Regions from separate parts of the Homo sapiens genome. Here region 1 is linked to region 2. The links are contacts of gene promoters, found by promoter capture Hi-C in human tissues and cell types (Jung and others, 2019). All regions are on one chromosome and are shown on one strand. Each heading gives the region's core, a stretch centred on a gene start or on the middle of the fragment in contact. The rest is flanking DNA. Distances are from core to core; before and after follow the strand shown. Region 1 has its middle 72 kb from the start of GEM. Region 2 holds the start of TMEM67 (transmembrane protein 67).

Region 1 (7,835 bases), core at 455-2,954, 580 kb after region 2:
TCATTTCATAAGGACTCTTAAGAAGTATGCTTTGGTCTTTTGGTATTATCTTCTTGATTGTCATCATATTAGTTCCGCTGGTATGCTATATCTTCTCAAGTCTTAAAAATTTTGTATGCAGCCATTCATTGAGTGTTGAATGCTCTCACTTTGATTAATTCAGCAAGAACATAATTATTCAACTGATGTGACATTGCAACTTATGAATTTTATACTATGAACAAATAAGATTTGTGAATTCCACAGAGACCAAACAAGTCCACCTATGATAGTGACAGAGGGTGGCATCAATGCCCAAAGTTTGGGTCAGTCTCTCAAAATGGAGATGTTGACCAAAAGGAGAGAACTGTTAAATCAAACTAAACTTGGCCTGAGACAAAGCCTCTGTACTTGCATGCTTGAGTCCTTATGTAACAAACTGCAACCTAACTTTGTATGTAAATAAACTGAAAGCCTCATTTAGGAATATTCTTCTGTAACAAATAGCTGTGTCTCAGCCAATCACAGCAGCTTGACTTTAGTCAATCACAGGTGGCCAACTCTTCAAACCATGTTGAAATAAGCAAATGCCAAAGTGTAACCAAGCCAGCTGTTTCTGCACCTCACTTCCATTTTCATACATCACTTTCTTTTTTCTTGTTTTTTTGGTTTTTTTTTTTTTTTGAGACAGAGTCTCGCTCTGTCACCACACTGGAGTGCAGTGGCACGATCTTGGCTCACTGCAACCTCCGCTTCCCAGGGTTCAAACGATTCTCCTGCCTCAGCCTCCCAAGTAGCTGGGATTACAGGCATGTGCCACCACGCCTGGCTAATTTTTGTATTTTTAGTAGAGACGAGGTTTCACCATGTTGGCCAGGCTGGTCTTGAACTCCTGACCTCAGGTAATCTGCCCGCCCTGGCCTCCCAAAGTGCTGGGATTACAGGCGTGAGCCACCTGGCTCGTCACTTTCTTTTTTCTGTCCAAAAATGGTGTATGACCATTTGACAGCCCCAGAGTTTCTCTGAACCTGTTCTAGTTCTGGGGGCTGCCTGGTTCATGAATTGTTCTTTGCCCAATTAAACTATTAAATTTGTCTAAAGTTTTTCTTTTAACACTTATGTCCAAAAATTATCATGACATTTTAACTTTGTTACTTAGAGTTACCCATTTAAAAGCAGTATATATGAATTTTAAAGGTCCAGTGTTTTTATTATACTTATTAGAGTGGGGGAGGGAGGAAAGACAGAAGGTAGAAGAAAAGGAGAGAAGAGGAGAGGAGAGGAGAGGAGAGAAGTAGAGGCGATTGAAATTTTTTAAATCTCAAGAGAATAACAATCAAATCACCACATGCATCCTGCTAACATTTCTACAATGTGTGAAATGTGTGAAACATATCTAACGCCCATTTTTATTAGCGAATGTGGAACAATGCACAGTCTAAACTGAGTTAACAGAGACCAGTTTTCCCCAACAGTAACGCAAAGCTCAGTGTGTCCCTGGCTGGATATCTGATTTGCTGCTGTCTTCACCTGTTGATCTTTTCTGGACCTTGACTCCTCGCAAAGTGATCCTTGGCCCTCAGCCAGGAAGTTGTTTGTAATTATCTATCCTGCTGCTCTCTGCTTGTCCATTCTTTACAGCGGTGTGAAATCATGACAGGATGCCCAGGCCTGTGTTAGGCAGTAGGACATTAACTCAAATTGCCTAAATGGTTAGGGTAGTTACATAAGACCCTCTTCTTAGTGGAATGCTTTTTGTTTAATATTTTAAAAATTTCCTCCATTTCACTATTGGAACTTCTTATTCCCCTGTCTAGCCATACAGACATGTATTTAGGTGCAGTATCTATTGTCTACAATTGCCTAGAATATGGTGGATACCCCCACTCCAATGGGCAGTCCTTGTCCTGATATTCAGGGTTACCCACGCCCTATTAAAGCTGGTTTCTAGACATCCTTATTGTCTGGGAAGTATTCCCTTTCTGTTAGCTGAATAACCATTATTAATAAAACAGACCATTAATGAATCAGCCCTAGTCTTAATTGTTTGGGCAAGTCATGACGGACCAAGTCACTTCTCATACTTGTGACCCAAGGATTCAGTGCCAAGGTGAAAGAAATATTTTCTCTTCTTTGTGGCTTTAGAACCTGCATTAGTCCATTCTCACATTGCTATAAAGAATACCTGAAACTGGGTAGTTAATTAAACTGGGAGGTTTAATTGGCTCATAGTACCGCAGGCTGTACAGGAAGCATGACGCTGGCATCTGCTCTGCTTCTGGAAACTTTCACTTATGGCAGAAGGTGAAAGGGAAGCAAGCACATCTTACATGGCCAGAGGAGGAGCAAGAGAAAGACGGGGGAGATGTCACACACTTTTAAACAACCAAATCTCACAAGAACTCACTATTGTGACAACACCACCAAGGGGGATGGTGTTAAACCATGAGAAGTTGCCCCCATGATCTCCAATCACCTCCCACCAGGCCCCACCTCCAACACTGAGGATTACAATTGAGCATGAGATTTGGTGGGGACACAGATCCAAATCATATCAGAACCAAAGGTTTAGCCAACTAGAATATGAAGTGAACTACTGACAGAGACAAAATTTTACATATGTTTTCAATACCAATCCAATTTTTTTAAATGAAATTTCAAATTGTTATTGCTTACAGGCTTTTATAACTCTTCAACACTTCATTAAGGCTCTTCTTAAGGACCTCCATGTCTCCCTCCCACCCAACCTTACATGGTTTTTTATTCTTCCCAGACATTTCTCTTCTCCTCTGACATCTAGAATACTAAGCCATCTGGCCCACCTATCCAAAGCTACCCCATCGCCAAAGTCCAATTCACATCACACGTCCTATGAAGCTCTCATTGATGTTTGCAGCACACATTGATTTCTCCTTTCTCTTCATATTTGTAATAGTTTCATGGACAGCCCCAGTCAATTTATGCTACTTTGTGCCACTCTCCAATGACACAGGGAAATCTTGGAAGAGTTTAATATTGTGAGCATATTTGCTTTGGCTATTCCACCAAACCCAACATTGAATACCATACTAGGCATTTATGAAGTTACATTCAATCACATATTGGAACTGTGACACTGAGGTTGCTAGTTTTGTTGATTAGAGGAACTGTGCTACCATGCCCAGAGGAAGCTTCATATGAGAAAAGCACAATGTTCCTATAAACAAAACATACCAGATTATTGGGTTATTAATCAAACCTCCCTATGTATTATTAATAGCTACCATTTATTGAAATATCTAATTTTTTTAAAGTATAAGGATAATGTTATAATATTTATCATATTTATTTCAGATTGAATTAGAAATACAATGTTACAGGTTTACTGGAAATCCTCTTTATTCCTACACCCATTCTTCTCCCTCTCTAGGCACTGGCAACTACTTATTAAGAATTTGTGTGTATCCTGTTGATGTTGTTTTTTTGTTTTTGTTTTGTTCTGTTTTTTGAGACTGTTCTGTGTTAGTATCCCATGGATCTACATCTGTTGATTTTTTTCCCCAACAGAATTATAAAACTTTTGAGGGCTTATAATCATAATATTAATAATTATAATATATTAATAATAGCTACCACTTATGAAGTACCTACTGTGTGCCAGGTGTTAGGTATAACATTTGAAATATTATTTAATTTCAGTTAATGCTCATGCAATCTGATGATTTAGGTAATATTTCCATTTTAAAAATGAGAAAACTGAGGCATGAAGAGTTTAAATAGCTTGCCTAGACTCACACAGGTAGACAATGGCTAAGCCAAGAACAAAACCAGGTTACACAGGGCTTGAAACTTATACAAGTTGGGGTAAGCAGGCTCTCTTAAAGAAAAAGATCTCAAGTATACAAGTATACATATACAAAATTAGGTAAGAAAGAGAATATTCAGAATGAGAACAGAAACAACTAATTACTTGAGCCTTAGATATGCAAGCCCCTTTCTTCTAAGAGGGCTTTGGACAATTCCCCTAAAATATTTATATTGAAAACACTCCCTGGTTGCCACCTGGCTTCCATCAAGAACATTATGTAACATGCAAATGAACCTGAAGCAGCATTAGCTCATGATAAGCCAGGCCCTGAGGCTGAAGCAGCATTAGCTCATGGTAAGTTGGCCTCTGAGCAGAGATGGGATTTGGTCTTTTCCAGAGCCCAGATCTCAGGCACCTCTTCCCAAGGGCCTGGTACAGTGTTCAGCACATATTAGGGAGCTGTGCCCCTGTATGCTGTCCACCTTCTTCACTCTCTCTCATGCCCTATGTTAATTCTCTTATAATGTCTAATATTACCTACAGTTATCTTACTTGCATGTTTATTGTCTGTTTCTCCCAAACTCCATGAGATCAGGGACCTTGTCAACCTTTGTTCCTCATCGTATCCTCAACATTTAAACAGTGCCTAAGCCTAATTCACAGTATCAGTGAAGATCTATTGAATAAATGAAATAAATGTTGGCTAAAGGAACACATTAAAATGCATTTGGTTTAAGATAGATCAAAACTTAGGGAATTCATACCAGAAAAAGCTTTAATAACAGAGTTTATAGTATTTGATTGTTTGTCTTGAGGCAGGGTCTTACTCTGTCCACCCAGGCTGGAGTGCAGTGGCAGGATCATAGCTGCAGCCTTGACCTCCTAGGCACACGTTATCCTCTCACCTCAGCCTCCTACATAGCCAAGACTACACAGGCATGCCACCAGGCCCAGCTATTTTTTTTTTTTTTTTTTAACTTTTGTAGAGATGGGCTCTCACTATGTTTCCCAGGCTGGTCTAAAACACTTGGCCTCAAGCGATCTTCCCACCTCAGCCTCCCAAAGTGCTGGGATTACAGGTGTGAGCCACCATGCCCAGCCAGAGTTTACAGTGTTAGAAACAATGAGTTCATGTAATCTTCTTTATTTATTTTTATTTTTTTATTTTTTGAGACAGAGTTTCGCTCTTGTTGCCCAGGCTAGAGTGCAATGACGCAATCTTGGCTCATGGCAACCTCCACCTACTGGATTCAAGTGATTCTCCTGCTTCAGCCTCCCAAGTAGCTGGATTACAGGACTGTGCCACCATGCCCGGCTAATTTTTTGTATTTAGTAGAGATGGGATTTCACCGGTTGGTCAGGCTGGTCTCGAACTCCTGACCTCAGGTGATCCACCCACCTCGCCCTCCCAGTGTAATCTTCTTAAAAGCAAATTTATATTTTGTACAAACTATGCATTATATTTAGCTCATTTTCTTATAAAAACATTCAACATTTCAAACCCCCAGTGCAATGAATGAATAGTTCTTCAGCAAGAGTTATTAACTTTTGTTTATAGCAACCATAATAAGGCTGCAATCTAAAATAAAAATATTTAAGAATTATCTTAATTAGCATGGTAATCAAAAAGACATACCCCACGTGCTTTGGGAATCAACAGTCATCTAAAAAAACAGTAACTTCTTTTTTCCAGTGGTAGTTTCTTTTTTATATTTATAGAAATGTAAATTTTGTCCCTTCATGGATTATTTATCTTAAGAAACCATTGGGAAATCAAAAAGGAGAAATGTTTGTTTCTAGGCTATGAATCATAGGAGAAAATTGTACTAAATCTGTTTTTTTTTTTTCACATTGGCCTACTTGAAAGACTATTTCATTTTTTTTTCTCATTTTACATTTAATGAACCCGATCAAAATCCAAAATAGTACAGTTTTGTTTCATAAAGTTACATAATTGTTTTTGAGGAAAAATATAGACTACATAAAGTGATTGCCTGAGATAAATATTTGAAGTTAAAATATCTTTTATTTTCAGTTCTTCTGTTGAGTACGGCAAAAAAAAAAAAGGTCCTCAAAATAACCATAGTTAATGTTTCATTTGATAATGGTTCACTTCCCTGTTGACTTTCCAAGCATCCATCTTGGAAAGAAGAAACAAGCCTCTGTTTCTGTTTACTTTGGTTAACAAGATTTCAAAATCTTCGTTCAGTCTTCTGTTGAGTTTTAAGAGTATACTTGCAGCATCAATTTATTTATATTGCTATCAAATGTATGGGGTTAATAGAACTGGAACAATTGACTGGCCAGCTGCAAAAAATGTTAGATACCTCATTGTTTACATTAAAAAAAAATCCAGAAGAATCAGAAACTTAAACAGAAAAAAAGAAAGAACAAAAGTGAAAGAAGAAAATATAAGGGACTTCTACTTCTTGCAATAATAGATTAGGTAATTCAACCAACTATCCTGTTTAGAACAAGGAAAGATATTTTAAAACATGTACCTGCCATATATGATACAACTATTCCATTCCGAGGTATTTACCCAAAAGAAATAAAAATATATTTCCACAAAAAGACTTTTACACAAATGTTCATAGAAATTTCATTTGTAAGAGCCCAAACTAGAAACAATCCAAATGCCTATCAACTGGTAAATGGATAAACAAATTGTGGATATAGCTATGCAACAGACTGCTACTCAGTATTAAAAAGCAGGGAACTACTGATATATGCAACAACACAAATCAATCTTAATATAATTATTTTGAGGGAAAGAAGCCATACAAAAAAAGAGTAAACACTGTATGCTTTCATTTATATAAAATTCTAGAAAATGCAAGCTAGTTTATCATAACAGAAGGTAAATCAGTGGTTGCGTGGGGATGGAGACTTGTGATGGGGCAGAGGGTAGGGAAGGAAAGATGACCAAGGGCCATGAGGACACTTTTGGGGGTGGTGGATACGTACATTATTTTGATTGTGGTAATGGTTTCATGGTTAAATACCTGTCAAAACTCATCAAATTGTACAATTTATATATGCACACTGTATGTGGACTACACTTTAATCATTGCCTCAGCAATATATACAATAATGACTTCAATCATATATCTCAACAAAAAAAGTCTACTTGAAAGTTTTGGACAGCCTAAAAAGGCACTGAAAAATGACATAGCCAAGATCCAGGAGAAAAGGAATCCCAGAGAGGTGAACCTGGTATTTGGGGTCATTTCTCCCTTTGAGAAGCCCTTTAAATGTTTACCTTAAAAAGAAGAAATACTGAAAATGAATGGGGAAGGTGTCCAACTTAAAGGCTTCAGAAGAGAACAACAGAACAACCCCAAAGAAGTGTAAAGAATGAGAAAATAAAAATAAGAGGCCAGACACAGTAGCCTGTAATCCCAGCACTTTGGGAGGCCAAGTCAGGAGAATCACTTGAGGCCAGGAGGTCAAGACCAGCCTGGGCAACATAACAGGAATTCATTGCTACAAAGAAAATTTTTTTAATTAGCCAGGAATGGTGGCACCTGTAGTTGCCTGTAGTCCCAGCTACTCAGGAGGCCAAGGTAGCGTTATCACTTGAGCCCAGGATTTTGGGCTTACAAGGAGCCATGATCGCACCACTACACTCCAGCCTGGGTGATAGAGACCTTGTCTCGAAACAAACAAACAAACAAGAACAAAAATTAATGAATCCAAAAACAAGAAATAACTAGCACAACCAACAAAATCAAATGTTGATTTTTTTTAAAAGACTGATAAAATACATTCCAGTAAAATGTATAAAATTTATAAAAGAAGAAAAGTGAAAATAAATGTGCTAGGAATAAAAAAGGGGACATAACTACAGAGAAAATACATATATTAAAATCATAAGAAATAAACAACTTTATGCCATACATTTTAAAATGACAATTTTAGAAAAATGTCACTTATAAGGAGAAGTTTTTTAAAAAAACATAATAAACCAATAACCATGAAAATGTTTGTGTTTAAATAGCAAAGACTTGGAACCAATCCAAATGTCCAACAATGATAGACTGCATTAACAAAATGTGGCACATATACA
Region 2 (7,184 bases), core at 4,409-6,908:
GGATCCAAGGGAGCTGAATCCTGCATTAACAGTGGGAAGAGCTAAGAAGCAATCTTACATGCACCAAAGAAGTCCTCAAAGGCTTAGGAGACAGTATCTTCTGTTTGTGGAGGGGAGTGAAAACAGGAGAAGTGGTTGAACATCAACTTTCAAAGCACTTTCCTTCCAATACCTGGAAACCTGTCTCTCCCCAACTCCAACAGAAGATTGAAGGTTTATTCTCAGTGCATTTGCAAACAAGGATTCTATTTAATATATGCAAAAGAACAAGGATTCTATTTAATATATGTAAAAGAAGGGCGTTATGTGAACGATGAAACTCACACCCTCTAAATATTACACCCAGGCTTAAAATCTCCAAGGAGAAGAATCTTTCTGAGAAATTTGATCAGCACAGTAGGATAGGGAAAGGGGACAGGAAGAATGAGGGATTGCCCTAAGAAACAACCCAGGCAAATCACTCCACACATTGTAGCCCAGTCAACAAGCCCTTCCTATCTTTGTAGAGCTTCTAATTAGCTTGTCAGTGTGCCGACTTTTTTTTTTTTTTTGAGACAAAGTTCCGCTCTTGTTGCCCATTCTGGAGTGTAATGTCGTAGTCTGGGATCACTGCAACCTCCACCTCCTGGGTTCCAGCAATTCTCCTGCCTCAGCCTCCTGAGAAGCTGGGATTACAGGCATGGCCACCACGCCCAGCTAATTTTTGTATTTTTAGTAGAGACGGGGTTTCACCGTTTAGGTCAGGCTGGTCTCGAACTCCTGACCTCAGGTGATCCACCTGCTTTGGCCTGCCAAAGTGCTGGATTACAGGCGTGAGCCACCGCGCCTGGCCACCCACTTTTGTATGTATGTAAATGGCAAAAGGTCCCAAGATTTAGGAGGAAAGCCTTTTATACAAAACATAACTTTGAAGAAACAGATTATGCAACAGAGGGAAACTTTAAAACACCACTAGTAATGTATTCTAGGAAATAAGATATTGCAGCATGGAAGAATTCAAGAATGCCATAATTAAGCTATAGCCAGAAAACAAAAGAGAGCTCTTAGAAATTAAATTTATAATAGAAGAAATGAAAAGTTCAATTCAATGTTTGACAGATACGCGCAGGAAAATCTTCCAGAAAGTAGAACCAAACAAAACAAAATGAAAAATGAAGCCTGGGCGCGGTGGCTCACGCTTGTAATCCTTGCACTTTGGTAGGCCGAGATGGGTGGATCACCAGAGGTCGGGAGTTTGAGACCAGCCTGACCAACATGGAGAAACTCCGACTCCACTAAAAATAACAAAATTAGCCCTGCGTGGTGGCACATGCCTGTAATCCCAGCTACTCGGGAGGCTGAGGCAGGAGAATCACTTGAACCCAGGAGGTGGAGGTTGCAGTGAGCAGAGATCGTGCCATTGCACTCCAGCCTGGGCAACAAGAGCAAAAAAACTCCGACACACACACACACACACACACACACACACACACGCCGGGCGCGGTGGCTCACGCCTGTAATCCTAGCACTTTGGGAGGCCGAGGCGGGCAGATCACGAAGTCAGAAGATTGACACCATCCTGGCTAATACGGTGAAACCCCGTCTCTACTAAAAACACAAAAAATTAGCCGGGCGAGGTGGCGGGCTCCTGTAGTCCCAGCTACTCCGGAGGCTGAAGCAGGATAATGGCGTGAACCCGGGAGGCGGAGCTTGCAGTGAGCGGAGATCCCGCCTCCCGCCACTGTACTCCAGCCTGGGCGACAGAGCGAGACTCCGTCTCAAAAAAAAAAAAAAAGAAAAAAGAAAAGAAAAATGAAAACATAATCTGAGAAAATTAGAGGAACAGTCCAGGAAGTCTAGTATCTGAAAAATAGGGTGTCCAGAAGAAAAAAAAAACGGAGAGAAAGTCTTCAAAGGAATAATTAGTAGAAGAGATCATTTCCCAGTGTTAAAGGACATGAGTTTCTTTGCTGAATTGCAAAGTTACAACAGGTGTTCCACACAAAAGATGACAATGAAACATGCCCAGACACATCACTGTAAAATTAAGAAAAATGAGAAGGTGGGGCACAGAGAGGAACATCCTGAAGACTTCAAGAAAGTAAAAAACAAGTTACACACAAAAGATTAACAAATCAAAAGGGCACTAAGTGTCTGGAGATTGGGAATGAACACAGGGTTCACCACACAAAGTGCCCCAGATGTAAGATCTGAACCTCACTAATTCCCCTTTCTCACCACAACCTCCACTTCTGTTTTTCACCTTCTTTGTAATATTTTAATTCATTAATCTCATCTTGAACTTACTTGCCTTTAGCTTTTCTTTATTCCTGCCCAGAAAAGCACATCCAGAGATTCAAAGGCAACAATAAAAAGCAGGGCTTAAGAGTGTGGGCTCTGCATTATCCAAAGCAAACTTGTCACAGAGAAAACCTCAAAATCAGGGTTCAGCCTGAGTGGCCATGTGGGTTCTCAGCTTCATGCAGGAAGGAATTCAAGAGCAATCTGACAGAATAAAGTGAAAGCAAGTTTGTTAAGAAAGTAAAGGAATAAAGAGTGGCTACTTCATAGGCAGAGCAATGGCAAGGACTGCTAGACTGAGTATATTTATGGTTATTCCTTGATCATATACTAAACAAGGGGTGGATTATTCATGAGTTTTCCAGGAAAAAGGTGGGGAATTCCTGGAACGGAGCGTCCTCCCTTGTTAGACCATGTAGGGTAACTTCTCTAAGTGGGCATGGCAAGGGGCAAACTGTCAAGGTGCTGGTGGGAGTGTCTTTTAGCATGTTAATCCATTGTAATTAGCATATAATGAGCAGTGAGGATGGCCAGAGGTCACTTTGGTCACCATCTTGGTTTTAGCAGGTTTCAGTCCTCTTCTTTACCTATCCTGTTTTATCAGCCAGGTCTTTATGATCTTATCCTGTGAAATCAGTCCTGCCAACCTCCTATCTCAAACTAACACAGGAAAGAAATAAAATACTGTGTGTTCTCACTTATTAGTTGGAGCTAACATTGTGTACAGGTGGACACAAAGAAGGGAACAATAGATACTGGGTACTACTTGAGGGTGGAGGGTGAAAGGAGAGTATGGATCAAAAAACTACCTATTGGGTTCTATGCTTATCACATGGGTAAGGAAATAATCTGATCCCCAAACCCCCGAGACACTCAATTTACCTATATAACAAACCTGCACATGTACCTCTGAACCTAAATTAAAGTTTAAAACAACAACAACAACAACAAAAACCCGAAGAAAAGTATGGGCTCTGGTGTCAAATTACCAGGGTTAGAACCATGAATTAAGTGTGACCTTAGAAAGTCACTTATACTTTCTAAGCCTTGGTTATTTCATCTGTAAATTAAAGGTGATGATAACAGTCCCAATTTAGGATCAAATGAGATATTGCAATGCCGGACACATTAAAAGTGTCTCCATGGGACTAGCCCAAACTGAGCCTACTCTGTTGATAACAAAATGTCGTGTTACCTTTTAGATGTAACAGAGCCAAAAACTGAAAGTCATGTAGCCCAGTCATGTGCAATAGAAAAAGCCTGGACCTCTAACAACACCCAAAACCAGTGAATCCTTTCCTTGGAACCAAGACCGGGACATGACTGGAACCTGAACTTGGAACTCTTTCAAAAGTGTTGGGTCCATTTGCCTGGAGGATCAGGCCTAAAATCGGCCTCTACGTACCTTTTTCTAAATGGTCAAATTTCAAGTCCTCCATTCTGCCTGCCAAGACACATTCCTAAATTCTTCCCTTGGCTTTCCAAGCCCATAAGTTTACCCCAGACTCTAAATCAGGGAAACAGATTTGAATGCACTCCTATCTCCTTGCTGACCAGTTGTGCAAATAAAGACTTTTTTTCCTCAAAAGCTTGTGCCACATAGTATTGGCTTCTGTGCATGCATTGGATAGAGAGCTCATTTGCTTGATAACAAAAACAAGCTATTAATACCTATTATTTCTATTATTATCCATACCTCTAGCTCCCACCATGTTAAATATTCCTATAACTTTCATTTCTACCTTAAAATTTTCTTTATCCAATAAGTTTTCGCTTAGAAGCTATCTACCACAGGTATCTTCCTTTAATATCACAACCGTCTACCCAGCCACCCAAATCAGAAACCTGGAAGTTATCCTTGATTCTGTTTGTTTACTTCCTATGTCCAAATAATAAAATTCTTATAATTCTTCTTCCTGAATAGCTCCTTTATTCATCCTCTTCTGCCTCTCCCTTCCTCCATGGCTCCAATTTAGACTCTAGATTTCTACCTTAGCCTCGCAAGTGGTCTCTAACTCTAAACGTTTCCATATTTTTGTCCAGGATTTTTTTTTTTTTTTATATAGGGTCTCTGACATCCAGGCTGGAGTGCAGTGGCACGATCATAGCTTATTGCAGCCTTTGGGCTCATTGACCTCCTGGGCTTAAGTGGTTCTCCCGCCTCAGCCTTCCAAGCAACCGGGACCATAGGCATGTGCCACCCACCCAGCTAATTAAAATAAATTTTATTTGTAGAGGTGGAGTCTCACTATGTTGCCCAGGCTGGTCTTGAATTCCTGGGCTCAGACAATCCTTCCACTGTGGCCTCCCAAAATGTTAGGATTAGAGGTGTGAGCCACAGCACCAGGCTTAGATTCCTTTATTCACAAAAGGTGTAAAGGTGATCTCATTTTATATACATGTCAACTAAAGAAAAAAATCAGGCTTTTAAAGACTCAAAGTTAGTTTTATTCGGAGTCTTACTGAGGAATGCAACCCTGGAGAGTCTTTCAAAGAGTTTATGTTATACTGGTCCAAAGCAGCTGTTCTGCCCCCAGTTTCTACATCAAGGGATGGAGTTCTGCATGTGCTCAAAAGTTACATTAAACGTGCTCAGAAGTTACGTTGGAGCAAAATCTCATCAAAGTTTTGTTTGGAGACTACATCTGGTTATAGATTACAGAGGCATAATCATTAATCCTGTCACACGTTATCTTACGTACAGGAAGAGGCAAGAGCTAGGATCGCTGACTGTATCTTTTTAAAAAATGAAGTGATTCAAGCAACAGATGTGAAAACTTGTGCTCTATCCTACTTATTGTCTTCAGGGCATTCTTCTGGAGGACTGCGTTCAGTCACTGAGTCAGGGGCTTTGTGAAATTTCGCTGGCAACAGAATGAGCAAACATGGTTTCTTCCGTTTCGTACTTTGTCTCGCATACATGATTTCCTATGCTCAAACCTGGCAGGAAAGTTTTTTTATTTTTTCAGTCTTTGAGCTATAGTAATCCTTCACTGGGTTTTAAGTCAGTGGGGTTTTTTGACATCAAATTGTTAAACTACAAGTCATGTTTCCTTTAACGTGAAAATTACCTAGTCTGAATAAATTCTGATGTAACTATAACTCGACAAATTATGATATTTTCAACTTACGATGGGTTTATTGCGGGGAGGGGGCAGCCCTATCGTAAGTAGAGGAACTCTATACACGTTTGAAAATATCGCTGGGCTCCAGGGTTAACCGGTCTCTAACCCATTCTTTACTGGACCTGCCAACTTCGCGCAGGGTTGGTAACCTAGCAACCAAGCAACACGAGCAGTGACTTCCGGTACCCGGACTTGGGTTGTCCAATCAGCTCAGCGAAGCCGCCGCAGAGGCTGATGGGGGGCTGGAGGCTGTGAGGCTTCCAGCGTCGGTACCATGGCGACGCGCGGTGGGGCTGGGGTGGCAATGGCGGTTTGGTCCCTCTTATCCGCCCGGGCCGTGACCGCGTTCCTTCTGTTGTTCCTCCCTCGCTTCTTACAGGCCCAGACCTTCTCTTTCCCTTTCCAGCAGCCGGAGAAGTGCGACAACAACCAGTACTTTGATATCTCCGCCCTCTCGTGTGTTCCTTGTGGAGCTAACCAGAGGCAAGATGCCCGAGGTAAGACGGTTTGCGGTGGGCCCTGGCAAAAGTAACACTCCCGCCTTGGTCGGCCCCTAGTCCCCGTAAATGGAGTTTCACCATGTTGATCAGGCTAGTCTCGAACTTCTGACCTCAGGTGATCCACCCGCCTCCGCCTCCCAAAGTGCTGGGATTACAGGCGTGAGCCACCGCGCCTGGCCCGAATACATGTATATTGTTTAGTGACGTAGAAATGTAAAATTTCCAGCAGCAGTTAAGTAGTTTAATAGTTTAGTTATACTTGCACTTAAAATGGTAGCAGCATAATACCAGCTGTGTGCCAGTGTAAGACCTCTACGTATAATAACTAATTTTGTACTCATACTAACCCTGTGAGGTAGGTACCAATTTTTTTTCTCCATTTTATTGTAGAGGAAGCCAAGGCAGAGAGTTTAGTAACTTGTTCAAGGTCATGCAACTGAGTAGGATTACTACGATTGGAACTCAAGAAGTGTATTTCTGGATTTGAACCCAGGCAGTACTGCCTCCAGAATCCTGCTGTTAATCACTATACTGCTTCTCAAGATCTTCAGACTTATTAAAAGTTTCACTATCTGGGAACTTTATTTTTATTTATCAAGGATAAAATTGGCTTTTTTTTTTTTTTTTTTTTTTTTAGGAACTTCATGTGTATGTCTACCAGGATTTCAGATGATCTCTAATAATGGAGGACCTGCTATTATTTGTAAAAAGTGCCCAGAAAACATGGTGCGCATAATTTATTTTAAAATAACTTACCTGTAAAAAGTAGTAAGTTAAATATCTTTATTTTTCAAAATATAATTTAATGTTTAATGTTTCCCCACAGACTTTAAAATTACTATGCTAATTTTATTTTTACTAGAGTAAGTTTTGGGAGATCAGCGAAATTTCATGCAAACTTGGAGAAAACAGAAATGTATTTCTTTTAAAATCTGAAATCCAAAAACCACAAAGCTGTAAAAATTTAAGTTTTTGTTTTTACTCGTAGAATAACTCGGTTATGAAGAAAATTAGATGAATAAGGCATATATAGAGCAGTCTGGGATGTGTGCAATTTGGGATGTGTATATTCTTTTGACTGATGCAAGTGGAGTTGTCTTAGACCTACCATGTCAACAGTTTATATGATTATTGATGTTCATAATGATATCTAAGGTGTAATTATTTCATGAAATACCAATTGCATTAATAGATTAAATAATGTCTGTTTCTGTTTTGTTAGTAATTTCATTGTATCGTAATTTAAAAAAAATTAGTAAATAGTTACTATATATAATTC

What was found. The method cuts DNA at HindIII sites, captures the fragments that hold promoters and counts their contacts. A contact is called where the count stands out against the background at its distance.
Region 1: a fragment that was not itself captured here is called in contact with the fragment with the promoter of TMEM67 in region 2 in 1 of the 25 tissues and cell types used here (mesenchymal stem cells).

Annotation. Positions count from the first base shown.
Region 1 is chr8:94,330,019-94,337,853 of GRCh38, forward strand. No RefSeq gene overlaps it. Among named protein-coding and RNA genes, the nearest start is that of GEM, 72 kb to the left of the region's middle. The HindIII fragment of the contact is 4,279 bases long and covers 1-3,844 here.
Region 2 is chr8:93,749,236-93,756,419 of GRCh38, forward strand. It overlaps TMEM67 (transmembrane protein 67), which reads left to right and starts at 5,659. Exons shown (of 28, transcript NM_153704.6): 1 at 5,659-5,902; 2 at 6,543-6,631. The coding sequence starts at 5,680. The HindIII fragment of the contact is 11,912 bases long and covers 1-7,184 here.